4 separate regions of the Homo sapiens genome follow, and regions 2, 3 and 4 are each linked to region 1. Evidence: promoter capture Hi-C in human tissues and cell types (Jung and others, 2019). All regions are on one chromosome and are shown on one strand. The core of a region is centred on a gene start or on the middle of the fragment in contact, and the rest is flanking DNA. Distances in the headings are between cores, read along the strand shown.

Region 1 (6,754 bases), core at 2,373-4,872:
TCCACCACCTTCTATAATATGGTATGCAGGGTCCAAAAAATCCAGTACCATAAAATATGTGGTAAAGTCATTGTAAGGTTAATGAAATGCACTGAAAGAGCTTACGGTGGTCTCACTCTGCTGCCCAAATCCAGCGGGGTCCCAGCCGCAGTTTGGAGCTACTTGATCATAGCTTTCTGTTCTACCTTAACTATTGATGGGGATGATTCTGGGTCCCTTTTATAGGCTAAAGTTCCTTGGCAGAAGCAGCAATTCCAAGAATCTAGTTAGCTGATGCCTTTTTTGTCAGCCTGATAGGAAGACTGGGCCAAGAGAATATTGAAAGCACAAAGCACCACCCCTTACCTCCCTGACATTTCCCCTCACGGCCCAGTTTCTCTTCCACTTATCCTTCCCCCACACTTAAGATTTCCAGCCTACTCCTGTTTAGAATGAGGGTTCAGCGGAGGACCAGAGCAAATATACTTGAATGTGGATTATCATGGGATGGGGGGTTTATTATAGGTATTAACCGCTACTTGCCCACCCAATATCTATTTCCTGCTCTTAGTAACAGAACCCAGATTTTGTTTAGGAGGTAATGTGCCTAGTTGAATTATATGCTTCCTCGGACTCTACTGAAGTAGGCATGGTTAAGTGATGTAGTTTGACCAATAAGATGTCAATTAAGGGATTTGGGAAAGCTCTGCTTTAATGATACAGGCACAACTTATTTCCACTTCCTTTTACATCTTCTTCCCTAGAATTTGGGGATGAAGAGGGAGACAGGGCAATCACCTTTGGACTATGAGATAACCATGAGGATGAATGCTTTATGTGAAAAATGGTGTTGGAGAAAGGTAGAAGGTAGCTGGGGACTGACACCACCGCAGAGCTGCTGCCCCAACCTAGATAGCCTACCTCCAGATTTCTACTAGGTGACAAAGCCAACCCTTACTTGACTATGGTTAGGTTACTGTGATGACATATAGTCATCTGAAATTCTAACAGATACAGCTGTCTACCAGGAACATAAATTTAACGTCTTTAGATGAATCCAAAGTTTTTAAGGTTTTAATGTTAAAAAGTCCAACTCTCATGTCTGATAGAACAGGAATGCACAACCCTCCAAACCACATCACCCACTACAGAGTGGTAAGTACAGGTCATTAAATGAAAGCAGCACAGAAAAGTGGCTTCAGAGAGGGAATCATTTAATGCCCCTTACCTTCATTAGCCCCATTCCCCAAGTCTTACCACATAAACGTAAATTCCAGGTAAAACTGTGCTTACCAGGTAAACACACTTCCAGACAAGTTCCTTGTTGCCCTAGATTGCCATCCCTAAACTTCTCCTACATGGCAATTCTGCCACAGCATAATTTTCAGGGCAGCTCCACCCACAGTTAAAGTTATGATTTAGGGTTCATTACTACACATACCTTGAAACTTTTAAGCAGACACATTAAAGTAATGCAGCTCAAGGAATGTTAACAACTTTTTCCACTTTTGCCCCAGCCAGTTTCTACTCTAATCCAAAACGGCTTCTTTATCACCACCCACTTTACTCAAATTACGCTTACAGAATTCATTATCCTCCCGGGTAGAATCACCGAAAATAATGTGAGCATTTATATAGAAAGTGTAGTTCAGATAAAGCAATATATTAATAGGCCAAATTAGAAAAGGATAGCACGCTGCTAGTTTTCTGTATGCACTCTTGCCCGTGTGAAATTAAACTTTTTTGCATCCATGCGGGGAGCGGTGGCTCAGGCCTGTAATCTCAGCGCTTCCTAAGGCCGAGGCGGGCGGATCACTTAGGGTCAGGAATTCGAGACCAGCCTGGCCAAATTGTGAAGCCCCTTCTCTACTAAAAATACGAAAATTAGCCGGGAGTGGTAGTGGGCACCTGTAATCCCAGCTACTCGGGAAGCTGAGGCAGGAGAATCTCTTGAACCAGGAGGCGGAGGTTGCAGTGAGCCAAGACCACGCCACTGTACTCCAGCCTGGGTGATAGAGCGAGATTCTGTCTAAAAAAAAAAAAAATTGTATCCAAAGTTGGAGTTTGCCTTTATTATTGCAAATGAGATAATAACCTTTCAAGTAGGAAAACAACAAAAAGGAAAACTATATAATGAAATTTCTTTTACTCCCAGAACCAAAATAACGAGACTTCCAGATAGAAATTTGCATGGAGTCAATCAGAATTACATATTATTTTCATTTCCGAACAGAATTACTCCATCAAGTTTTCTGATATCTTCCTAATGTTTCTCAGTAAAACTTTAGCAAAGTAATAAAAATTCACCTAAGAATGATCAAAATTGCGTTGAGTCCCAAATAAATAATTTTTTTTATTTTAAGGGAAAAATTCCGCACTTTGCTTTCTTTTTTTTTTTTTTAGGTAGGCAGGGACAATCAGGAAGCAGCCCCGGATTTTCAGAAACGATCTTTAGCATCACCAAGACATAGACTAAAGAAACATGTAATGCACAACTTAGGCTGCTCCTTCATCCAAGGCAATTCAAATTTCCACGGATACCAAGTCTTCAATGGCCGGTGTCAACCATTCAATAGAAGCATACCAGAAAATGTTGCGATTGCCTTCTTCACCACAAGAGTCTAAGTGACACAAATTTGGGCAGAAGTAATTATTTGGCCAAGCCGGGAGGCAGGAAGCTTAAATACCGCCTCTGTAGGAAGTGCGGGGGATCCGAAGCAAACACCCCAAAGTTTGTTTGTGAGTGGAGGCGCGGAGGCGCCCGGAGCCACGCCGAAGCTCACCTGGTCAGCGCACAGAGCCGGGTAGGAGTCGGGTCTAGCCCTAGTTTGCTCCTGAGCGCTTCGTTCCTCTCAGGCTACTGCGTTTAAATCAATACTGGGTGGCAAACGATACCCATTCTTTGGGCTCTGAAGTTTGGAATTCATGGGTTCTGCGGCACAAGAAAGTTTCTTCACAGGTTATTTCCCTGTCCGAGGCTGTCGCTTAGCTCATCTCCTCCCGGTGCGGCCCTGGGGTGTCCACCAAGCCGCCGGGCAGATCGCTGCCCCGTGCTGCGGCATCTTGATGCCCAGGACCCCGAGGCTGTGGGGCAGCCCCTCCTACCTGGGACAAGCGGCCAGAACTCCTTTTCCCACAGGGAAGAACACTCCAAGCCCCCGGAAGAGTGCGCATCCTAAGGAGATGTCTCCCAACGCCTAGACAAAGACAGCGCTGGGAAAAGTTGGACCAACTGGCACCCCCGCAAGGCGAACAGAGCAGTCCCCTCGGCCTTCGTGGCCGAGCCGGCTACGCGCTCTCGGAGTCGCGGCCAACTTTTCCCGCGAGCTTCTGAGCAACTTGCCGCAAGTTGGGGCGAGGGGGCAGAGCAGGGGTCAAGGGCGCGCGGAGGGACTGATCTCGCTCCTGTCGGTTTCCTCGTACCTCCCCGCGTACCTGCTGATGTATCCGTCCCCGTCGCCGTCGCACGTCTGGAAGAGGCGCCGCATCCTCTCCTCCTCGCCGGTGCTGGACGTGTCGCTGCTGCTGCTGCTGCTGCCGCTGCCGCCGCCGCCGCCGCCGCTGCTGGAGCTCCCCGCAGCCGCTGCCGCCGCGGCCGCCATCATGCGCCCGCTCCCTACTTGGGAGGAGGAGTACGCGCGACCGCAGCTGGAATCCGCGCGGCGCGCAAGCTGCCTGCAGCCCCGAACTTGCCTGACAACGGAGCATGCCCAGTGGCCGCCGGGGCGCTCCGGGCGAGGGATTCCACCTCTCCGGGTTTTGCCCGGACTGGGAAGATGGGCGCTCTGGAATCGCCCGAGGAGGCACCTCAGGGAAGAGGGAGGAGGGGAAGGTGGCTGGAAGAGTCAGGGAGCTAAGGGTGGCAACGGGAACACAAGAGGAGGCAGAATACACTGGAAGCCCCCGGGAAGGGTGTCAGCATTGTGCATCCGGCAACGACGCGGGCCCGGGACACTTGGGGACGCTTCAGGCAGAGGGCAGGTGTACTCCCGGCAGACCTTCTCCGACCGCCCGGAGTCATGGCTTCCTTTTCCAGAGAAGCTATATAAACACTCTCCTTCTGCAAACTCAAAACGGTGCTTGTAATCCCACTCTCCAGGATTGTTCCGGGTTCTGTACCCATAGCCACCAATGAGAACCGGAATGACTGGCCTTTTTATGAAATTTTGACACCTGTCAAGAAACCTGGCCCTCGCAGCCCTCATCTTGGCTCCCACTCTGTACTGGGAAGAGTCTGCACGCTGTGTGGCATTGTGTACGTTGGGTCAATTTCTGGAAACGGCTCACTCTACTGGCCAGGCATCACTAGAATTTCCCCCAACAGCTTTAATAATGCCAAGAGCGAACATAATAGATGGTCTCATTTGATCCACACTACAGACCTGGAAGATGCCTCTTTTATTATCAATCCTACGACTTAGGAAGTATTAATAGATAAGTACCTCATAGAGTTATCTTACATATAAAAGGAGAGCAGACATAATGCAGTTAGGACAATGTCTGACACCTAGTAAGTGCTCAACAACTGTTAGCTCTCATTGTTCCCAATTTACAGGTAAGAAAACTGAGGTACCAAGACCTGCTCAAGGTTCCAGGTTTAGTAAGTGTTAGGGCAGAGGCAAGCCCGGGCAGCCTAACTCCAGAGCAGGAGCCTTTAAACACTGCACTATTCCCCCATAGCCAAAGGGAAACCACAGTGAAGCAATTTGTGGTTTCGTGAATGACTCATTATTCTGTCCTGGATTTTCTGCCAGAGAGGCGTGTGAAGTTCTCTGGTGGTTTTAAAATATGTCCACAGATTCTTTGGTGCACCCCTCATCAAGAGGTGGAGTCTGTTGCTTCCCCTAAACCTGGATTGGACTTGTGACTGCCTTGACTTCTGAGACTAGGTTAGAAAAGGCAATGCAGATTGCACTTGGCTCTCTCCCTTGGGACACTTACCTTTGAAGCCTTGAGCTGCCTGAAAAGAAGTTTGGCTACCCTGAAGCTGGAGAAACCATGCAGAAAGACCATGTAAAGAAAAAAGGAGATGACCAAAGAGCTACAGCTGTTCTAGCCCTGGATCTTAGAATCTTCCCAGACTAGGTGCCAGACATGAGTGAGAGATGATGCTAGCTCTAGATGCTGCAACTGCATTGGAGACCCTGAGCAAAACTGGCTAACCAACCCCCAGAGCTGTGAAGATAATAATTAAAAATTGTTGTTTTAAGCCATTAAGTTTTGAGGTGATTTGTTATGCAGCAATATATAACTGGAACAAGTCCATATGTCTTGGGAATGTCTGCTAGGTCAGAAGGAAGGAATCTCTGCTCTCTTTCTCCTCCTCTCCACCCCATCTACCTATTCCTACTTTACTTCTTTATTATTCTCTAAGTTCCCAGTATTTCAGGGCACTAAAATCATAGATTCATGAGTTAATGAGTTAATGGGTTATCATGGGAGTGGGACTAGTGACTTTATAAGAAGAGAAGGAGAGACCTGAGTTAGCAGGCTCAGCCCCCTTGCCATGTGATGCCCTGCACTGTTTTGGGACTCTGCACAGAGTCCCCACCAGCAGGGTGGCCCATTGACCTTGGACTTTTCATTCTCCAGAACTGTAAGAAATAAATTCATTTCTTTATAAATCACCCTAGTTTCAGGTAGTCTGTTCTAAGCAACAGAAAATTGACAAGACCAGAAATTAGTACCGGGAGTGGGGTGTTAACGAAAACGAATACCTGAAAATGGAGAAGCAGCTTTGAAACTGGATAATGAGCAGAGGCTACAAGAATGAAGCAGCAGTCTAGAAAAAGCCTAGGTTCTAGTGAGGGCTGAGAAGACAGGAAGAACAGGGAAAGTTTGGAACTCCTTAGAAATTGGTTAAATGGTCATAATCAGAATGCTGATGGAACTATGGACAGTAAAGGCCATTCTGACAAGGTCTCAGATGGAACTGAGGAACAAGGTACAAGAAAATGGAGTAAAGACCATCCTTGTTATAAATTGGCAAAGAACTTAGCTGAACTGTTCTATGCCTGAGGGCTTTCTGGAAGGCTGAACTTGAGAGAGAGAAACTGGGGTATCTGGCCAAAGAAATATCTAAGCAGTAAAGCATTCAGGCTGCAGCATGGCTACTTTTAACCACTTACATCAAGCTGTGAGAGGGGGAAAAAAACTTTAAAGGTGGAATTTACAATCATAAGAGAAGCAAAGTGGAAAGATTTGGAAAACTCTCAGCCTGGCCATGTGAAGAGTGAAAAGGTGTGTTTGGGAGAGGAAACCAAGGGTGTAGCCCAGCAACCTTTTGTTCCAGAGATTAGTAAAGGAAGAAAGTATCATTACGAGAAGGAAAGACCTCGATGGCATTTCAGAGAACTTTGAGTTGTTCCTCTCATCACAGACCCAGAGGCAGGAGGACAGAATGGTTTCAGGAGACAGACATGAGGCACCTTTCATGGGCTTGCTGCCAAGGTCTCTCTCAGGTCTTTACTTCCCAAATTCTGGTACAGTGCTTTTTGGACATGCCAGCTGTGGCTCAAGAAGCTTTAGGTGTGAATTGACCTGTCACTCAAGAAGATGAGAACCATAGGCCTTAATGGCATCCATATGATGCCATTATAATTCTTCAGGTTTGCAGAAAGCGAGAGCTGTGGAGATGTGGGGTCTCCACCTAGATGTCAAAGGATTTTTGCTGAAAGCCTGGGTCCAGGCAAAGGCTTGTAACAAGGGCAGAGCACTTCAGAGAGCTCCAACTAAGGCAATGTTAAGCAGAATTGTAGGGTCAGAGCTGCTGCAG
Region 2 (6,754 bases), core at 2,753-5,252, 370 kb before region 1:
CAACTTTTAGGGTTGAACACCAAAGAGAAGACTGAAGGGTCTGGGAGGAAGGGAGAAAGAGTATCCACAGAGGTTACCCCTTGCTTTGTGTCCCATGTTGCCTCTGTCTACCTAAGACAAGAGGACTTATGAGAACAATGTTGTGGTAGTTTAAAAACTCCTCAGTATCACCTATAATGGACAAACTGACATTAGGAACCTCCCGCTGCAACATGGTAATGAGGACCATAACCCACATATGTTCTTGCAAAAAAAAAAAAAAAAAAAGCTAACCTCAAGTCTTGTAAGAAAACAATCAGATCATCAGATTGAGGGACATTCTATGATACCACTAACCTGATAACACTAACCTGACGTCCTCAAAATGGCAATGTCACAAGAGACAAAACAGCAGGAGGGAGGATCTGTTCTAGATTAAAGGAGAGTCAAAAGACATGAAAACTAAATATAATGTGTGAGCCTTGACTGGATCTGGGACTAAACAAAAGCAACCAAAGACATTAATAGGACAATTGGGGAAATTTGAATATGGATTGTGGACTGTCAATGCTTCATCAGTGGTAAAATTCTCAGGTGTGATGAAGGTACTGTGTTTATTATAGGAGAAGGTTCCTTCTTAAAAGGTTTACACATATGCCTTTAGGGGGTGAAGCATCATGGCATCTGCAACTTTTAAATGGCTTAGAAAAAAACGTATACACAAACACAAATGGGAGCAAGAGAGAGAAAAAAATCAAAATGTGGCGAAATGTTAACAATTGGTTGATTAAGATGAGTGGTTTATGGAGGTTTGTTTTACCTTTTCTGTAAGTTTGAAGATTTTTAAAATAAAAAGTTGAGAAAACACATACTTCAACATTCTAGGCAAGAAGGTCTCACAAGGTCTGGATATGCTGCAGTGGAGATTTAACACGGAGAGCGCAAGATGACTGATTCTCAGTGCAGCCACCAGAACTGGAGAGCTCTCCTGTAAGTGTGTCTTCCACATCCAAATGATCACCAAGTACACAGGCACAAGTTGACAGGGACAGGAGGCAGAGAAATTCTAGGCAGAAAAGGGCAAGGTCCCTGGCGAAGCCCCACCCTGAAGCCTATAACCATGGCCCAAAGTGAGAACATGCAACCTTTTTTCCCCACTGAAATGCTGCCTTTTCAAAAATCACCCATGGCCTACCCCGCCCCCCATCCTATACCCATAAAAACTCTGACCCCACTGGCAGAGAGCAGAGAAGGGAAGAAGAGGAGAAGCAGCTGGATGTCAGAAACTGTGGTTTGATGTCAGAGAGCAGCAGCTTGACTTCAGAGCGATGGCTTGACACCGTTGCTTCGGAGAGGAGTCTGGCTGGGGACAGCCAGAATCCAGGGGAAGATTACCTTCCCGTTCCATCCCCCTTCTAGCTCCCCTTCCTGCTGAGAGCCACTTTTATTGGCAATAAAATCCTCTGTATTCACCACCCTTCAATTCTTCATACGACCTGATTTTTCCTGGATGCCAAACAAGAGTTTGGGTGCCATGGGCGCAGATGCTAAAGGGTGCCACACTGACCCTCTGCCTTCAGTGGTGGAGAGCAACTGCCTCACATGAAAAGGCAGAGGGCCCACTGAGCTGCTTAACACTTAAGCTGTCCACGAACAGCAAAGCAAAAAGAGCACTGTAACACATGCCCTCTGGGGCTTTGGGGGTCACAGATCCTCCCCCCTGAGACGCTACTGTGGGGCCATCACGGAGTTTTGCTCCTGCTGGTGCTCAAAAGCACTTGTTCCGGCCCCTGCACACACTCACCTGTGTGCTCCTCCTCCCTTGAGGGGTTGAGAGCTGCAGCCTGAGTAAGCGAGGCACCCCTGTCACGAGGCCTGAGAAGGGGTCAAGAAAAATTTCCTATTTCAAAGTCAGGGTGGGTGACCTGAGAAGCGAAAGACGCCACCCCACCACATTCTGACTATAGATCTCTGTTTCTTTTCTCAAAGCAATCGAGGCTGCATTTTCAGGACTTCTATTTTAGTAAAATCTTACCAGCTGGGGATTTGTTTTCATTTTCACTGTTGTCACTTTAGATTTCTGACACAATTTGTTTCTGTGAAACAACAAACTTGGTCATAAATATGAAGGGATAAGGAAGATAACCTAACATCAACTCCAGGGAGCTGTCCTCCAGGACTGCGAGCCTCTACTGACCTTGGTGCCCATCTAGGATCCCCTGCTCTGCTCTGTTACGCACCCCCACATAACTCCTAGTCATCCACCTCCAGCCTCGGTGGCAGAAAAGTTCCGTCAGTGGTTTCTGCCAGAACTTTTCTGCCAGAAAAGTTCTGTTTCACACATATGTGAAAAGAAGTTCAAATCTACGTATAATCATTTTACTTATTTGACTATTGATCACCTGAATTGGCACAGCTTTAAAATAAGAATGATACCCAGTTTTGAAGAGGATGAGAGGAAATCTTTGGGGTAGAGAAGGGACAGCAACTGACAATATACAAGAAAAGACTTAATCATTCAATACCTTTGAGAAGTAATCTTGAAGAAATAGTTACAAGTATGTTTAGAGGATAAATTCCAACCCCTTCACTGTGCCTCCATGGCTCTCTGTCATCACTGACCACAGCCCAGCTCTCAGGCCTCACTTCTGCCCACTCTCCCCCAGGCTCACTAACCTCCAGTCCAAATGGCCCTTTCTTAGTGCCTGGGTCACCTGCGGCAGCTCCAGATCCCCTTTAGATAGGCTGTCTCCTGCCCTTGACAGCAAACAGTGGATCCTCCATTAGCACTCATCCCAGGCCCTGTGACCCTCATGCTAACAGGAGTGAGAGGATTTCCACGCCACCAGGAGGAGGGGGAAGATGTGGTTCTGGCATCCATATGTGATCTGCAAAATATTTTCTCATAGCAGCAATGTTCACAATGATGGCTGGGGATGCGGTAACAACACTAGCAAGGTCCCGAAGTTATTTCCATGACAGATTACACAGGCTTTCCAAGGCTGGTTTCAGGAGCTAACACTCCTTTATTATAATGCTGGTTTTAAGAAAAATTATGTCATGAATTTCAAATAACCAAAACCAAATCAACCTTAAAAGACATGGTCTATTTAGAAAATAAAGACTGTTTATGCTATTAATAGAAGAGAAGTTCATGAATCCCAAGAATTGTGGGAGCTCATTTTGAGTAAATGCTGTAGATTAATGCCTTTCCATTTCCATCTTATACCCCAAGTCTCTTTTGGGGACTGAAAAGTTATGGAACAGCAGAATTTGGGGAAAATATTCCAAAGTAACACAAACTGAAGTAGAACAATAACCTTTCCTGCTCTCAACCCTGGTTACTCTAAGGAAGATTCTGGAATGACTTCAGGGGGTTCTCCTCAGTCACTTAGCTCTGCTACCATTTGCAGACAGGTCTTATTTGACCAGGCTCAGATCCCTAGGAGAAAACACACAGTCACCCCAGAGAGTGCTCCAGTGAATCAATGTTCAAACTGTTAACTGGTTCTCAGGGATGATCCCTATTGTGACCCTCTCCAGAGAAATTAAGTTGCCCACATAAAGAAAAGAAAAAGGTAACAAAGGGCTTGGCCTGTTACATGAACTAGTTAGAGTACAACTTTCAGTCCGGTCTAACCCTTTCAGTCTGTGGACTAGAGGATCACTGACTATCTAGCCACCTCATTCCTAGCAAAAAGTGAGTATTCTCCAGACAGCTTGCCTTACCTGTGTAAACACATTTCTCCAGGTCTGCAAAAACTGTTTTTGGCAGAGGCAGGGCTGCCTTTCCCTGCCCCGACCCTCTCTCCTCACTCTGAGTGGCTGCTTGACACTTGTAAACATTTTTTCCTGAAGCCATTAAGCCTCATCAGCCAGTAAGCCAGGAGAATCTGGCTTTAGCATCAAACATATTTCACAGTCACAACCGCACCAAAAAACCAGGTTTCATGTGGAAATTCTTCCTTGGTTGTCCTCCAAAACCTATTCACACAGAGGAAAAATCTAAGTGATCACACCAGAAAGCAAGGTATTCTATGCATAGGACACCTTGCGGGTATAAGAGTAGATTTCAACCCTAAGGGTATAAACCTCAACCCTCAGGGTATAATGGTTTGATATTTCAACCTTGAGGGTATAATAGTTTGATATTGCTAAATTCCAGAAAAATAAAAATTTCTCACCCAAAATCAGAAGAGATCTCAAAATAACAGAATGCTTCACTGGCTGTGCAAAGGCCCATACCATCAGGGATTTTGTTTGTTTTGGAAACAGTTGCTCCAGAAAAGCACTGCTGTTGCGTTAACAGAGGTGGGGAAAATGGTCCACAGGAAAGGACAGCAAACATGCTGTAACATGCAGGATGCAATGAGTCTGTGTGCACACATCTGTGCTCTGCTCTATTGCAATACCCAGAATCATTGGGTCCAAGAGTGTTGTTTCTATTTTAATATGAAGGGCCGCAAAATCTGATTGCAAATGCTTCACTATTAAGCCAGGTGCTTGTGATCACACAGCTGCTCCCTAATTCCCCCATCAGCCCTAGAGACCTCAAAGGACTGCAGTAAGCAAATGACATCAACCACTGGCATGTCTTCCTGTTTAAACCGAGGAGTATCAAAGGAAAGCCATCTATAGAAACACAGGCGGCAACAACAAAAACAACTTCTTGGCTGTGTGGCCTTGGACAAGTGACTTACCCTCTCCAAACTTCATTATCCTGATTTTACAGATGAAGAGACCTCCAGGGCATCCTTCCAGGTTGGGGATTAAACATGAGGGATGCATGTAAATGCTTGACACAGGGTAAGTGAGCAAAGCATGTTAGTTGGTATACCCACCCTCTCTTTTAACGGCGAGCCTTTGCCAGATGGAGGACATAAAAATTCTAAGCAATAACTCCTACCTTGGCTTTGTCCACTTAATTACCTTTATTTTCTGAACAATGTGTGACGAGGTTTGATAAGAGGTAATTTTTTTAAAAAAAACATGCAGTGTGACAGAGGCTGGCACCTTTCTCCTTTATTTGACTGCTTAGTAAGTCAAAGCACTTTTTAATTGGATCGTTTATTCCTCCAGGCTTGGAAGACAGTGTCCAGGAACCAGCCTACTGAAGGGGCAGCTGGACTCTGATGGGTGGTTATGAAAACAAAAGAAAAGTGCTTTTTGATGAAGCTGATAGGCTGGACTTAGTCCTGTTATCTTTGGAGATCGGCAAATACACTGCAGCAAATTCTGCAGCTCAAGAAAACCTCTGGGTTGCTAATGCAGGTTTGCAAATATAGCAACTATAATGAAATGGCTACTTTTAAATGATTTCCTATAATGGTGCTTACATATGGAAGCTTTTTTCCTGTTGAAAAAATTTAATTGGAAAATGGCGAAGGAATAAGAAGAGGGAGACAGCCAGTTCCGATGAACAAACACACTGACGGCACTGTGTGAGCAGCTTTAATGAACTCCTCCTTGTTGTGCCCAAGTGTTTGTCCTCCTGGGGGATCTGGCAGAGCTGCCCCTGCCCGGTGCACCCTCCTCCTCATGGGCTCCGACCCCACTCAGTTCCCAGATTCCTGCTCGGCTGTGACCTCTGGCAAGCATTCTTCCATGCTCCTCCCCGAGGTTATCACCAGGGCCACTGCAGGCCTGCTATGGAGTCCTAACTGCACTGTGAGGTCTTCCCTGTGGACCTGTCTGCATCCTCCAAACAACTGTGAGCTTTGGGATGGGGTTCTTTCACTGCTGCTCAAGTATTTGAGTATCTCCTACGTGCAGGAACTGCTATGCTGGTAAATTAGGCAGGTGAAGTCCCTGCCCGCGTGGAGCCTGCACTCTGGCATGACAGCCAGATAAAGCTTGATAACACACAAGGAAATGAGCACAAACACAATCCATCCTCAGGGAGTGCTCCATGTTATGAAAGAAAATGAAGCAGGGAAAGGGAAGCAAGTGGCTGCCTGAGAGTGAGGGATGAGGCATGACTCTAGAGGGGAGGGCGGGGGGCCTTGGTGGAGACAGCTGCCGAGGAAGGAGGGCTCCAGGCGGAAGGAACAGCCAGCACAGAGCCCCGGGCAGGAGAAGCAGCTCAGGCTGGAGGAACAGCAAGCCAGGAGGCCAGAGTGGCTGCAGCTGGAAGAAAAACAGGACAAATGGCCAAGGAGGCGGCCAGAAGCAGGGACCGCCCTGTTGGCTGCGTGCTGAGGAAGCTAGAAGTCACTCTAGGCTTGAAGGATTTGAGGGTGGGAGCACAATGACCTGACAGCAGATTCTGTCTTTCATCCCCAGTACCTAGCACAGCCCCAAGTGAGTTTGCTGACTAAATGAAAAAAAAAAAGCTTCTATGTGTGGGCAGAGAACATGTGTCAACACTGGGCAGGGAAGGTCACTCCCCTCCAGGAACTCAGTCTTCTCAGGAAAGAGGCTACCACCAGTTATAATTAACCCATGTATTTTTAAATGAGGGACGGAATGAAAAGAATGGTTTGGGAAAATGAGGATGCCCCATGGCGCAGATAGGTGGACACTGCCTTCTGTGTGAGGACCAGTGCAACAGACGCCACCTCAAGTCAGGAGGTCCAAGAAGCCCCACAGGAAAGACATCCATGTAAATGTGTTTATCCTTGCACTTCCCAAACTTATTTAATTATGGAACTTTGTTGGAGTACAGGTCATTTATTAATTCCATAAAATACAATTTGAGAGAAGTGAATGGCGGGATCAGTATAGGGCTCACATTCTACAATGATAAGCAATTTCTAGGCTGTTTAAATCTGTCTGG
Region 3 (6,754 bases), core at 2,892-5,391, 350 kb before region 1:
AGTTACTCCAGCCAGTAGAGTAACTCCCTTCTTTGCTTGTTGGCTCAGTGGCATGGGGTGTCCCAAAGGGCTAAACAGGTGGCAGTCAATGGAATCATTTTTGTATTCTCTGATGGAGAACTCCCTAAGATTTCAAACTAGCAGAGCTCAAAGTTGCAAAAATAAGAATCTATAACTTTCTTTTTTTTTTGTTTTTACTGATACCGGATAGATACGTATTTTCAGGGTACCTGTGACATTTTCATACATTTATAATGTGTAATAATCAAGTCAGGATAACTGGGATATCCATCACCTTCAACATGTATCTTTTCTTTATGCTGGGAACATTCAAATTATTCTCTAGTAGCTACTTTGAATTATAAAATATTATAGTCACTCTATTGAATTATCAAACACTAGGTCTTACTTCTTCTATCTACCTATATTTTTGTACCCATTATTCAACCTCTCTTCATCCCCCTCTCCTCCCTACCCTTCCCAGCCTCTAATAACCACCAAAATACTCTCTATCTTCATGAGATCCACTTCCTTAGCTCCCACATGAGTAAGAACATGCGATATTTGTCTTTTTGTGCTTTCTGGCTTTTTTCATGTAACATAGCAACCTCCAGTTCCATTCATGTTGCTGTGACAGGATTTCATTCTTTTTTTTTTTATAGCTGATAATATTCTATTGTGTGTATCTTCATCTATTCATCTGTTGATAGGCACTGATATTGATTTCAAATTTTGGCCATTGTGAAGTGCTGCAATAAACAAGAGAATGCAGGTATCTCTTCAATATATTGATGTCTTTTCTTTTGGATATATACCCAGTAAGGGAATTACTGGATCATATGGTAGTTCTATTTTGAGTTTTTTGAGGAATTTTCATACTGTCTTACATAGCAGTTGTAGTAATTTACATTTCTGCCAAGAGTGTATGAGACTTCCTCTTTCTTACATATCCTTGCCAGCATCCATTATTCCCTATGCTTTGGTAGAAGCCATTTTAACTGGGGAGAGAGAATATCTCATTGTGATTTTGAATACTTTTTCATTTACCTGTTGGCCATTTGTACGTCTTCTTTTGAGCAATGTCTATTCAGATCTTTCGCTAATCTTTTGCTAAAAAAAATCAGATTTGTTTTTTGTGCTACTGAGTTCCTTATATTCCTTGCCAATGGACAGTGTGCAAATATTGTCTCCCATTCTGTAGTTTGTCTTTTCACTTTCATTATTTCCATTGCTGTGTGGAAGCTTTTTAGTTTGATGTAATCCCATTTGTATAGTTTTGCTATCATTGCCTATGCTTTTGAGGTCTTACTAAAAATTCTTTGCCCAGACTCAATGTCCTAGTGCATTTCCTTAATGTTTTCTCTGAGTAGTTTGATAGTTCAGGTCTTATGTCTAGGTTTTAATCTGCTCTGATTTTTGTATATGGCGAGAGATTGGTGTCTGGTTTCATTCTTCTGCATATGGATATCCACTTTTCCCAGCACCATTTATTGAAGAGACTGTTCTTTCCCCCATTGTATGTTCTTGGTACCTCTGTCAAAAATGAGATGACTGTAGATGAGTAGATTTATTTCTGGATTCTCTATTATGTTTCATTGCTCTATGTGTCTGCTTTTGTGCCAGTACTATGCTGTTTTGGTTGCCACAGCTTTGTAGCATAATTTGAACTCAAGTAGTGTGATCCCTCCAGCTTTGTTCTTTTTGCTCAGGATTGGCTTTGGCTATTTGGGCTTTTTTTTTTTTTTTTTTTTTTTGTAGTTCTATAAACATTGTAGGATTTTTTTTTTCTTCTATTTCTGTGAAGCATGACATTGGTATTTTGATAGGGATTACATTGACTCTATAGATCACTTTGGGTAGTATTAACATTTTAACCCATTTGTGCTGGAGCCTGAAATTTTTTTGTGTGTGAAAAATCAGACGTTGGTGATGACCTTGAGCAGTAGGATATAAATAACTCCCACAAGCTTAGCGTTCCAGTAATGGAACACTAGGCATAAATAGATTAACAATATTAATTCTTCCAATCCATAAGCATGGGGATCTTTCCACTTGTTTGCATCCTCTCCAGTTTCTTTAGAGAGAATTTTGTAATTTTCCTTGTAGAGAACTTTTACTTCTTTTTTTTTTTTTTTTAAACAGAGTCTCGCTCTGTCTCCCAGCCTGGAGTGCAGTGGCCCGATCTCAGCTCACTACAACCTCCGCCTCCCGGGTTCAAGCAATTCTCCTGCCTCAGCCTCCTGAGTAGCTGACTACAGGCGTCTGCCACCACACCTGGCTAATTTTTGTATTTTTAGTGGAGACGGGGTTTCACCATATTGCCCAGGCTGGTCTTGAACTCCTGACCTTATGATCCGCCCACCTCGGCCTCCCAAGTTGCTGGGATTACAGGCGTGAGCCACTGTGCCCAGTCGGTCTTTTACTTCTTTGGTTAAATTTATTCTTAGGGGCCGGGCACAGTGGCTCACACCTGTAATCCCAGCACTTTGGGAGGCCGAGGCGGGTGGATCACAAGGTCAGGAGATCGAGACCAGCCTGGCTAACGTGGTGAAACACCGTCTCTACTAAAAATACAAAAAAAAAAATTAGCCGGGTGTGGTGGTGGGAGCCTGTAGTCCCAGCTACTCGGGAGGCTGAGGCAGGAGAATGGCGTGAACCTGGGAGGTGGAGCTTGAAGTGAACCGAGATCGTGCCACTGCACTCCAGCCTGGGTGACAGAGTGAGACTCTGTCTCAAAAAAAAAAAAAAAAAAAATTATTCTTAGGTATTTTATAATTTTTGTAGCTATTGTAAATAGGATTGCTTTCTTGATTTTGTGTTCAGATTCTTCACTGTTGGCATATATAAATGCTATTAAAACCCACCTAGATACGTAACCTACCTACTAAATTATGAGTTTCACCAATACCAACTCATCCTATATAAAATGATAGGAGAGGCTGGACGTGGTGGCTCACACCTGTAATCCCAGCACTTTGGGAGGCCAAGGTGAGCAGATCACCTGAGGCCAGGAGTTCGAGAACATCCTGGCCAATATGGTGAAACCCCATCTCTACTAAAAACACAAAAAAGTAGGCGGGCATGGTGGTGCATACCTGTAATCCTAGCTACTCAGGAGGGGGAGGCACGAGAATCACTTGAACTCAGGAGGCAGAGGTTGCAGTGAGCCCAGATTGCGCCACTGCACTCCAGCCCAGGCAACAAAGCAACACTCTGTCTCAAAAATAAATAAATAAATAAAAATTAAGTAGGAGAAAGTAAGAGGAAAAAGGGACATGCATATATACATAAAAGCAAGAATATATGCATAGCGTAGCCATTGCTTCTGATTACAGGCTATAGCTGGTTACAGGCTACAGTTGATATTTACTCCTTCCTTCTCCTACTAGGAAATCCTTATTTTCTTTAGCTAGCATCTCAGCTGGTTAGAATTCTTTATTTAATGAAGTAATCAACAATCTCTACTCCTGAAGAAGTCTGCTTTTAGACCTAGTGATGTAAACAGAGATCTGAAATAAGAAAATATAAATAAAAATAGACCTACTGATGGTACAGCTCATGGGTGCAAGACATCTTCTGATAAGATTCATACATGCATTGATATTCCTATAGGTAGAATTACTTGGTTGAGGACTTTGAGTAATCGTAGCTCTCCTGGTTTAGGAGCTGCTGTAAGAATTATATAAGAATCAAAATTTATTTATTTATTTATTTTTTACCTGCTAGGAGTGCAAGCAAGGAATCAAAATTTAAACCTTTTTAGATCTAAAATTTAGATTTTTGTAGCTATTGTAAATGGAATTGACTTATTTGATTCTCTGATTGTTATTGGTGCATAGAGATGCTAAAATGATTTTAACGTGTTGATTTTGTATCCTGTAACTTTACTGAATGTATCAGTTCTAGAAGTTTTTTGTTGGAGTATTTAGGGGTTTCTATATATAAGATCATATCATCTGTGAACAGGATAATTCTGCGAACAAGGTGAATTTGACTTCTTCCTTTCCAATTTGGATGCCCTTTATTTCTTTCTTTCCTAATTGCTCTAGCCAGGACTTCCTGTTTTACGTTGGGTAACAGTGATGAAAGTGGGCATCCCTGTCTTATTCCAGTCTTTAGAGGAAAGGCCTTCAGTTTTTCCCCCTTCACTATGATATTAGCCATGGGTTTGTCATAGGTTGCCTTTATTTTGAGATATGTGTATTAGTCTGTTCTCACACTGCTATAAAGAACTTCCCTGAGACTGGGTAACTTATAAAGGAAAGAGGTTTAATTGATTCACAGTTCAGCATGGCTGGAGAGGCCTCAGAAAACTTATAATCATGGTGGAAGGGGAAGCAGGCACCTTCTCAAGGCAGCAGGATAGAGTGTAAGCATGTGCAGGAGGAACTGTCAACCACATAGAAAACCATCAGATCTTGTCAGAATTCGTTCTTATGCTATCATAAGAATAGAATGGAAGAAACCAGTCACCTCCCTCCCTCAATATGTGGGTATTACAATTCAAGATGAGATTTGGGTGGGACACAGAGCCAAACCATATCAATATGTTCCTTTTGTATCCATTTTAGGGTTTTTATCATAAAGGGATGGTTATCAAATGCTTTTCTGTCATCTACTGAAATCATCATGTTTTTTCCTTGATTCTGTTAATGTGGTATATTGTGTTTATTTATTTGCATATGTTGAATGGTATTTGCATCCCTATGGTGAATCCCACTCGATCATGGTGAATGACCTTTTTATTGTGCTGTTGCATTTGGTTTGCTAGTATTTTGTTGAGGATTTTTACCTCTATTTTCATTAGTGATATTAGCCTGAAACTGGTGCTTTTGTTGTTGTTGTTGTTATGCCCCTGTCTGCGTTTGGTATCAGGGTAACAGAAGCAACAACTTTTTAAGTGGATTTTTAGGTGTATTCATAAGAAGGGCCACTTCCATTCTCTCAATCCACAAAACACAGCACCATATACTGTTGCTAGTTCGGAGCATTTACCACATCTCTAGGGCATTGAAAAAGGTTACCTCTCAGATGGTGCCATCACTAGGTCCACTATGATTTGGATTGAGTCCATAATGCGACTTACCACCTGACTTTCAGCAACCTGCATTGTCTGATTCTTGGCTACATTACCCTGTAGCTATAAGGGATGGGAGAGTCTTCTAGGGTAGTCACAGAAGGTCCCAGGCACTAAATTGCGTCCCAAAATTCTTTTTTTTTTTTTCTCTGTTACCCAGGCTGGAGTGCAGTGGTGCGACCTTGGCTCACTGCAACCTCCACCTCCTGGGTTCAAGTGATTCTCCTGCCTCAGCCTCCCAAGTAGTTGGGACTATAGGCACGCACCACCACGCCCAGCTAACTTTTGTATTTTTTGGTAGAGAGGGGTGTGTTGGCTAGGCTGATCTCAAACTCCTGTCCTCAAGTGATCTGCCTGCCTCAGCCTCCCAAAGTGCTGGGATTATAGGCATGAGCCACCACGCCTGGCCCACGCCAAAATTCTTATGTTGAAGCCTTAACATCCAATGTGATGGTGTTTGGAGACAGGGCCTTTGGGAGGTAATTAGGTTTAGATGAGGTCATGAGGGTGGGGTCCTCATGATGGGACTGGTGCCCTCATATGAAGATACAGCAGAGAGCTTGCTTCCTCTTTCTCTCTTCCCTCCATGTGAGGACACAGTGAGAAGGTGGCCATCTGCAAGCCAGGAACAGAGCCTCAATGGGGAAATAATTAGCTTGTGTCTTAATCTTAGACTTCCCAGCCCCCAGAACTGTGAGAAATACATTTCTGTTGTGTGAGCCACCTTGTCTATGATATTGTGTTATGGCAGCCCAAGCTGACTGATATGCCTTCCTAAGTCCCTGCTCTGACTTGTGAACCACAAATATTTTGAAGCTCCATGGGTTATCATCAGTTTAGATTCAATGTCTAGTAATCTACCTAAGAATATGGTTCTCTCTTTTCCCCACTGCACACTCTCCCTTATAAGTACCTGCCATTCTCTTTGAAGGGGTAAAAGGAAAGTTTACTGTACTCACTTGTGGCATGATTGATACATCTTCCCCTTCATCCAGGGGACTCTGGTTCTATAACTGGCCTGTTATCCAGGTAAGGGAATTGGATGAGGCCATGATTATTCATTGTGATGACAAGTAAAGTCTCTGTTCACCAGACCAGAGTTTGACTATAATGATCTAGTAAAACTTTAGTAGGCTGCCCATTTATATCAGTTCTAGAGATCTCAAGCTTAGCCACTACAACTATCCCTAGCAGGTCAAACTTTTTTGATTACTATTGTGCCCTTGTTGACCAATATAGTAACCAAGCCCACTTCGACTCTGTTTGTTCAGTGGTACCAAGGACCCCATTTTAAGGACATTATCTCCCAGTCAACATCGCTGATTCCTCAGGCTTCTAAACTTTTTCTAGATTATACTAGCAAAGTTCTGGCATTTCAACATAATTTAATGCAGAGTCCTTTGTTGAGCCTAGTTTTCAGTTATTCAAACTGGTGAATACTAGTTTGATTAGTATAACATAGTAACATACTCAATCCAGAATCTCTTACAGGAAAAGTCCTATCAATAAAGTCGTCATCGGTCCAACTGAGTTCCTCCCTCCCTGGTCTAGAACCCTTAGTTCCTAATCTCACACATGAATTAATATGAACATATGAAAAAAAGCTCATCATCACTGGTCATTAGAGAAATGCAAATCAAAAACACAACAAAATACCATCTCACACCAGTTAGAATG
Region 4 (6,754 bases), core at 1,065-3,564, 330 kb before region 1:
CACTCAACAAACGGGTTTGTTTGAAGTCAACAACCTTCTCAGGCAGACCAAGCCCCATCAGAGGTGCTAGGGACACTCAGACTAGGAAAACAGTCCTGTCCTGGAGAAGCGTTATCACCTGGTAGATAGCACAGGACTAAGAAGCCAATAGCTGCGTTGCCAGATTCTGCTGAAATCCTAAGGCTTAAGGAGCTGACAGCCAGGGCTCTTAGTTCTCTGTGAAATTTTAACATGAGGCCTAAACGAGGTTGGATAGAACCCTGACACTTTGTATACAAATCTGGATCTAGTGCATGAAGGATATAGATCCACACATTCCTCACATTTCTGGAGATAAAAGGCCCTAATTCCCTAGGCTGTTTTGAGCCCTGCTTCACATTCATTTTACAGTGTGTATCCAAACGAAACTAAACCACCTGGACATTTGGCTGCAAGCTAACTGTCAAAATGGTTATTTTTGGATAAAACATAACTTGAGTAAAATAATTTCACTGTTCAACTGACTCTAAGGACAAGCCCTCTTAGCCTCTGAGAGGAAAGGTGTCCAGCCCCCCTGAGCCCAGGTAAGAAGTGAGCAGTGCCCTCATGACAGACTCTCCCAGGGGTATCTCCTTTGCTAAGTGAATAGATGTCTATTCCGTTACATATCTGCTGTGTGACAAAAGGCTTCACACTTCATAAGGTGCCCTTGAACTCTGCAGTCCAATGACTCTGATGAGAGCCCCTCCAGGAGTGTCACTGCGTATTTCTGGTTATTAGGTGCTTCTGCATTTTGCTAACCCTGGCAATAAACACAGCAGACATGCCTACACTACCCAGTGCACACACCACTCTCCAGGCACCATCTCCTCTGACCTTCATCACGCCAGGACTCTGTGGCCTAAGGGCAAGCTATGCTTCCCGATTTGCTGAGGGACAACTATTTTTCCCATGAAACACAGTTGGTAAAAAGGAATACGATTTGAATAAAATGGTGGAGAACCTAGATTCATCTTTGTGGGACTTCAGTCTGTGCTTTGAACAGCACAGTCTTCAAAGGGCCCAAAGGCACCTGCAGCCACAGGTGAGGCAGAGGAATGAGTTCATCCCCACAGGCCCTATCTAGATACATGCACCTCATGCTGCTGAGGCACCTCATGGTGCTGAGGGCTGGGCCAGTCTTCCCGGCTTTGTTGGGAAGTGAGTTCATCTGGGGTAAACTGTGCTTGTTCTCTTTCTCCTTAACTTGGTCTGGCTACTTGAAGTGCTAGTTTAACACTCACTGCCAGCGTGCATCTATTGCCTTCCCACTGAGTAATGACAGGAGTTACAGTGGTCTCCCCCTTAATGGAGGGAGGTCTGCTCCAACACCTGCAGTGGACGCCTGAAACCTCAGTTGGTACTGAACTCTATATACACTGTTTTTTCCTATACATACAAAGCTATGATAAAGTTTAATTCATAGTCAGAGATTCAAAATAATTAATAGAACAGACCAATTATTAACAATATGCCAGCACTGCTACTCTTATGCTTCGGGCCATTATGATGTAAAATAAGGATGACGTGAACACAAGCACTGTGATGCCATGGCATTTGATGTGATAACCCAGCTGGCTAATGGGTGGGGAGCACAGACAGTGCAGATATGCTGGACAAAGGAAGGAGCCCTTCCCCAGGTCGGACAAAGCAGCCCAGCACGCAAATGCATCAGCCTACTCAAAACAGCTTGCAATTTCAAACCTGCCAATTGTTTATTTTTGGAATTTTCCACTTAACATTTTCAGACTGCAGTTGACTGCAAGTAAATGACACTATGGGTAAGGGGGGACTACTGTACTATTCTGTCTTTCTAGCTGAGCCACTTGCTTTCCAGATACAAAGTATGCACAATTTTTGCTTATGTTTTAGTGATGACAATGGGTAGTGCCAACTTCTCTCATCCAGTGACAATGGGTAGTGCCAACTTCTCTCATTAAAGGACACTTAATTTCACTGAACTTAATTTCATTGAATACATATTTTTGGCAGGTTCCGCACTGCATGCTTCATACACTTTACCTGTTCCATCAGCTGCAGAGGAAAGGCAGTGTCAAATCCCAATGCCAAAATCTGCGAATATTCTTGAGAATTCCAGGTCACCAGGCAGTAATAATGAAAGTAATAATATTAATAGTTACCGTTTGCTGAATATTTATTGGTATCAGGGGCTTGGGCTAGGCACATTACATGCCATATCTTATTTAACCATCACCACAATGCTGTGAGATATATGTTATTACCTCCTTCTGGCAAACGAGGAAACCAAGGCACAGAAGAGGGGTAGAAAATCAGCCGAAGTGAAGAAAACTAATAAATATTAGGTTGGTGCAAAAGTAATTGCAATGGCAAAAACTGCAATTACTTTTTCCAACCTAACAGTACCGGAGATAATAACACACAAGGACCCTATGCTCAAATCTTCTCCACTATGTGCATCACTGGCACCTCCAACTCAACATACCACGGCTCTCCCTTGCCCGAGGGATGCGTAAACCTGCTTGTGTCCATGTATGTGTGTGTGGAGGGGTGGATGTGGGGCGGGGGTGAGGTGTGTGCACAGGCAGGGCTGAAGACATGGGAGAAGCAGGGTCAGGGTTTTCGTGATGGCAGCACCCATGTGATTTTGGGTGGGAGCGAGAAGGGTGGCAGGGCAAGTCCTCCAATGCTGTGATGAAGCGTGGGGCTCAGCTTGGTATAAATGTGGGTGATTCTCTTTGTCCTTTCTGTGCTTTTTTGTCCTCTGTAGAAGGGTTTGTATCGGATTACCTCTAAGATTCTTCTGGTTTTAAACTTGTAACATGCTTGCCTGGCATGTTCACCTGTCCAGGCACCTGAGTTCTGCACTATGGGCTTTGCATACTTTATTTGTCCACTGGTCCCAGAAAAATCTGCTGAAGCTCAAATATTTAAGGAAGCTTCACTCTATACAGAACTGTTCACCCAAGATCTTTTCCCTAAAAATGGAATGAGTTTTCAGAATCACACATCGTCTTACCACTGGCAAGGGAATTTGAGAACATCTAGTCCAATTCCTTCATTGTAGAGAAATGAAACTGAGACTCAGAGAGGTTCAAGGTTCATCAAATTCAGATTTCCTGGTTCCCTGTCCAGAGGCTACCTCTCTCCCAATGGCAATCCAAGAGCTCGTGGGTAGTCAATAAAATATGTATGTCCCAGCTATCCTTGGAGACAGCAAGAAACATCTGCACATGAAAAAGCCTCATTCAGCTTCCCATCCAAGACTCCACACCCAGGTGTTCTAATTCAGATACATACAGAACAAAATGCCTGGCAAAAGGGTAGTGTTCCCTGCTAGATGGATACCATCAGGCCTGTTCAGTGACTTCTAGGACTGGAACATTCCTCTTTACTACCGGAATTCCAGCTAGGGGCACCTGCTATGTAGTATTTCAAGAAATGCTGCTCATAGTCTTGAAAGTTAAAACTCATTAAATATAATCTAAATTATAAATTAAAGATGTCTCACTGCATGGAAATCACTTTTGTGTGCCCTAGATCAACTCAGAAAGCAGCAGCTTTTCATCTTTCCTTTTACCTGATAATTTCATTGAGAGGTCAGTGGCCCCTGAATTATTTCTTAAACCTCAGCTGAAATTCAGTTGCTCAAAACAGCATTCAAAGGCTCCTTCAACACCGCAGCAGTGGGACACCATTTATACAAGAAAGATTAACCCTACCCAAGGATGGCTGATATAGGGAACAGTGCCAGATCACAAAGCAGGCCCAGGTACTCACTGTGAAAGCTGTCATACTGGTCCCTAGGACCCACTTAAAGCCACACCTCCCCTTCTTCAAATAAATGGTTAGGAAATGGCTCCCAAGGGGGAGAGGTGTCTGAGACTGACAATCAGCTTTAAAGATGACCCACAATCCCATCCCATCTGTAAACATATGCTCCCCTGAAAATATGTCCCATCGTAATTTTTACTGGCTAACACAACTGCTTGCTATGTGCTAGATTGCTATACTCAGCATATAACATGCATTTTTCTCAACTATTCTTCACATAGCTTTATGAGATGGGTAGTGCTGTTATCTCCAATTTAAAGAGGTAGGAATTGAGACTTAGAGGTTAAGTAACTTGTCAAGCTAGTAAGTAACAGAGCCAGAATGAAAGCCCAGGTCTGTCTAACCCCAGGGTCTTGTTCATAACTACCAAGTCCCCTGCTTTGCAACAGAATATCATAGCACTTCTGAGATCCTTGCAAATACCCACGAAACTGTTGAGAAGAAAGATCTCAGAGGGTTATTCTGTTAAGAGAAGAAAGCAGAATTAGCACAATTAGCATGGGGGATAGACAGGTATTCATTCTTTAAAACTTTAAACATTTTGAGAAATAGAAGACCATTCAGCTGGTATCAGACCCAGGAAGGAATCCGTGAAAAATTAATCTCCAGCTATTCCTACATTCTATGTGGGAAAGTTAAAGAGGACAAAATTGTAGTATAGGTAAAACAAGCCCTTACAAACACCTAACTTTGCTGCTTAAAGACTACAGAAAAGGAAAGGTTATTACCTTCAACTGATGTGATCTTTAAAAATTAAAAATCTAAACAGAAGAATATTTTATATATTTTGTAAAAATTTCCTATACAAATATTGTAAGACAATAGTAGCTATTAAAAATAAGTTATTATTTTCCACTAAAAAATCCTAACTTGTAGTAATATTTATTTTCAAGGGAAACGAAAATTATGTGGTTATACAAGGGTTTTTGGAAAGAAACACAGACAAAATAAAGACACTGCACTAAGCTGGCTGCACCAACTTAAATTTCAAGGGGGCTGCATCCTAATGACACATCATGGAGGAGATGAAGATGTAACAATTAAATCCAGCTAATCAGGGGACATGAATATTTCAGTGCACGCTAAATACTGATGTGATTCCCCAGGCGGAAACTCCCACAGAGAATTCTATGAACATGAATAAAAGGGTTCTCTGACAAGGTCTGAATTGTTCATAAATTTTTATATTGATCCAATTTAGCAGGTATTGAATTCCCCATTCTAGAGAAACCAAGTACCTTTAGTGGTGAAACAGTCAATAAACTCCACAGATCAGGAAAGGCCAAAGTATTTTTACAGCAATGGTTGAAGTGCTTTGAAGAGACCCTAGATTTTAATGGATTAAGGACAATACTTTTTGTTTGGGAAAGCAAATGGAGGTTTAGATTTATGTGTGTGTGTGTGTGTGTGTGTGTGTGTGTGTGTGTGTGTGTGTGTGTGTCTACACATACCCATACACACAGACATGCAATTACCAACATATACACATACAGAGTATATATAAAACTCAAGGCACATGCTTCCAGACTTCTAATTAAAGTGTAAGAGTTATCCAAGATGTCAGCTATTTAGATATTCAATACAATCATTTTTAAATGCATTCCCATCTTTTAAAAGATACTTTAATATGCATTATTTCATTTAAAGAAAATCAGTTTTAAAATGCTTGATGCCACGGCATGCTCCGTTTCAGGGAAGGCCCAGGCAGGCCCTGGCTTGTCTTGCCTCACCACAGGGCTGCTGACGGATGGGCCATTTACCGTTTGCTGGTACATCTAATCCAAAGCACCAGGAGAGGAGGAGACACATTTCAAATCTGCTTCGTGTTCCCTCTCTGATGGGGCCCTGCTGACTGCTTCAGAGAACAGTGTGTTTAGATAGAAAGAAGGAATGGCTTTTAGGTCTGAATCTTCTTTCCTTTCCAATCACTCTAACCCAGCCAACAATAGTCCCAACTCGGATCACTTTGTTCCCAGAAAATGAAGAGAATGGGAAAGAGATTAGGTAGAAAGAAAACAACATGAAAAAACAGTTTCATGGTTAAGGACATAGGCTTTGTCAAAATGCAAAAACAAAATACCCTGGACTTGAGTATTAGTTCAGCTTTGGGTAACTCGTTTAACTTTTCTAAGCCTCAGTCTACTCATCTTTAAAATGGGAACAACACCCACTCATTCTAGTTGAGAAGATTAGATGAAATATTTCAGGCAAATCACTTAACCACAACATCAGCTGGCAGACTGTTAGCCACAAGGGTCGTTGCAATCTTCTTTTTTTTTTCCCTGAGACATGGTCTCACTCTGTCACCCAGGTTAGAATGCAGTGGCAAGAACACAACTCACTGCAGCCTCGAAATCCCAGGCTCAAGTCATCTTCCCACCTCAGCCTCTCCAGTGGTTGGGACCACAGTCAGGCACCACCACGTCCAACTAATTTTGTTGTTGTTGTTGTAGAGATGGGGTATCACCATGTTGCCCAGGCTGGTCTCAAACTCCTGGGCTCAAGTGATTCTCCCACCTTAGCCTCTCAAAGTGCTGGGATTACAAGCTAGAGCCACTGTGCCTTGGTCCACTGCCACCTTACTGACCACAATTATCATATGCCACCCCTTCTGCCTGCTAAAAAGTGTCAAAATAAAATCAGGCTTTGAAAACAGTGGTACGTTACTATCCTATCTCATTTTCACAAGTCCTGATTAAGCAATCAGAATGATTCAACACATTGGAGCCTAGATCACATTAATCAGAGTAATCTAGAGTCTGCCTTTCAACACGTGTAATTGAATCAGCTGCTCCCTGCACCCAGGCTGGGCCAGCAGGTAAGCAGGCAAACACATTCATCCTAAACAGCCTGGAAACTGGAGTAGCCTCATGCCCGCTTTGCACCCTCTGCCTCATGGGTCCTCATATCATTCAGGTAAGAG

The links. Contacts are between HindIII fragments. The study calls those that stand out against the background at their distance.
Region 2: a fragment that was not itself captured here is called in contact with the fragment with the promoter of MCC in region 1 in 1 of the 25 tissues and cell types used here (mesenchymal stem cells).
Region 3: a contact is called between a fragment that was not itself captured here and the fragment with the promoter of MCC in region 1, in 1 of the 25 tissues and cell types used here (bladder).
Region 4: a contact is called between a fragment that was not itself captured here and the fragment with the promoter of MCC in region 1, in 1 of the 25 tissues and cell types used here (mesendoderm cells).

Annotation. Positions count from the first base shown.
Region 1 is chr5:113,484,831-113,491,584 of GRCh38, forward strand. MCC (MCC regulator of Wnt signaling pathway) reads right to left here and starts at 3,623. Exons shown (of 19, transcript NM_001085377.2): 1 at 3,415-3,623. The coding sequence starts at 3,584. RefSeq lists an enhancer at 3,522-3,816. The HindIII fragment of the contact is 5,374 bases long and covers 1,307-6,680 here.
Region 2 is chr5:113,113,404-113,120,157 of GRCh38, forward strand. The region is part of intron 6 of MCC (MCC regulator of Wnt signaling pathway); the gene reads right to left. Among named protein-coding and RNA genes, the nearest start is that of DCP2, 140 kb to the left of the region's middle. RefSeq lists an enhancer at 5,594-6,101. The HindIII fragment of the contact is 3,150 bases long and covers 2,428-5,577 here.
Region 3 is chr5:113,132,825-113,139,578 of GRCh38, forward strand. The region is part of intron 5 of MCC (MCC regulator of Wnt signaling pathway); the gene reads right to left. Among named protein-coding and RNA genes, the nearest start is that of DCP2, 160 kb to the left of the region's middle. The HindIII fragment of the contact is 5,074 bases long and covers 1,605-6,678 here.
Region 4 is chr5:113,156,400-113,163,153 of GRCh38, forward strand. The region is part of intron 3 of MCC (MCC regulator of Wnt signaling pathway); the gene reads right to left. Among named protein-coding and RNA genes, the nearest start is that of DCP2, 180 kb to the left of the region's middle. The HindIII fragment of the contact is 8,331 bases long and covers 1-6,480 here.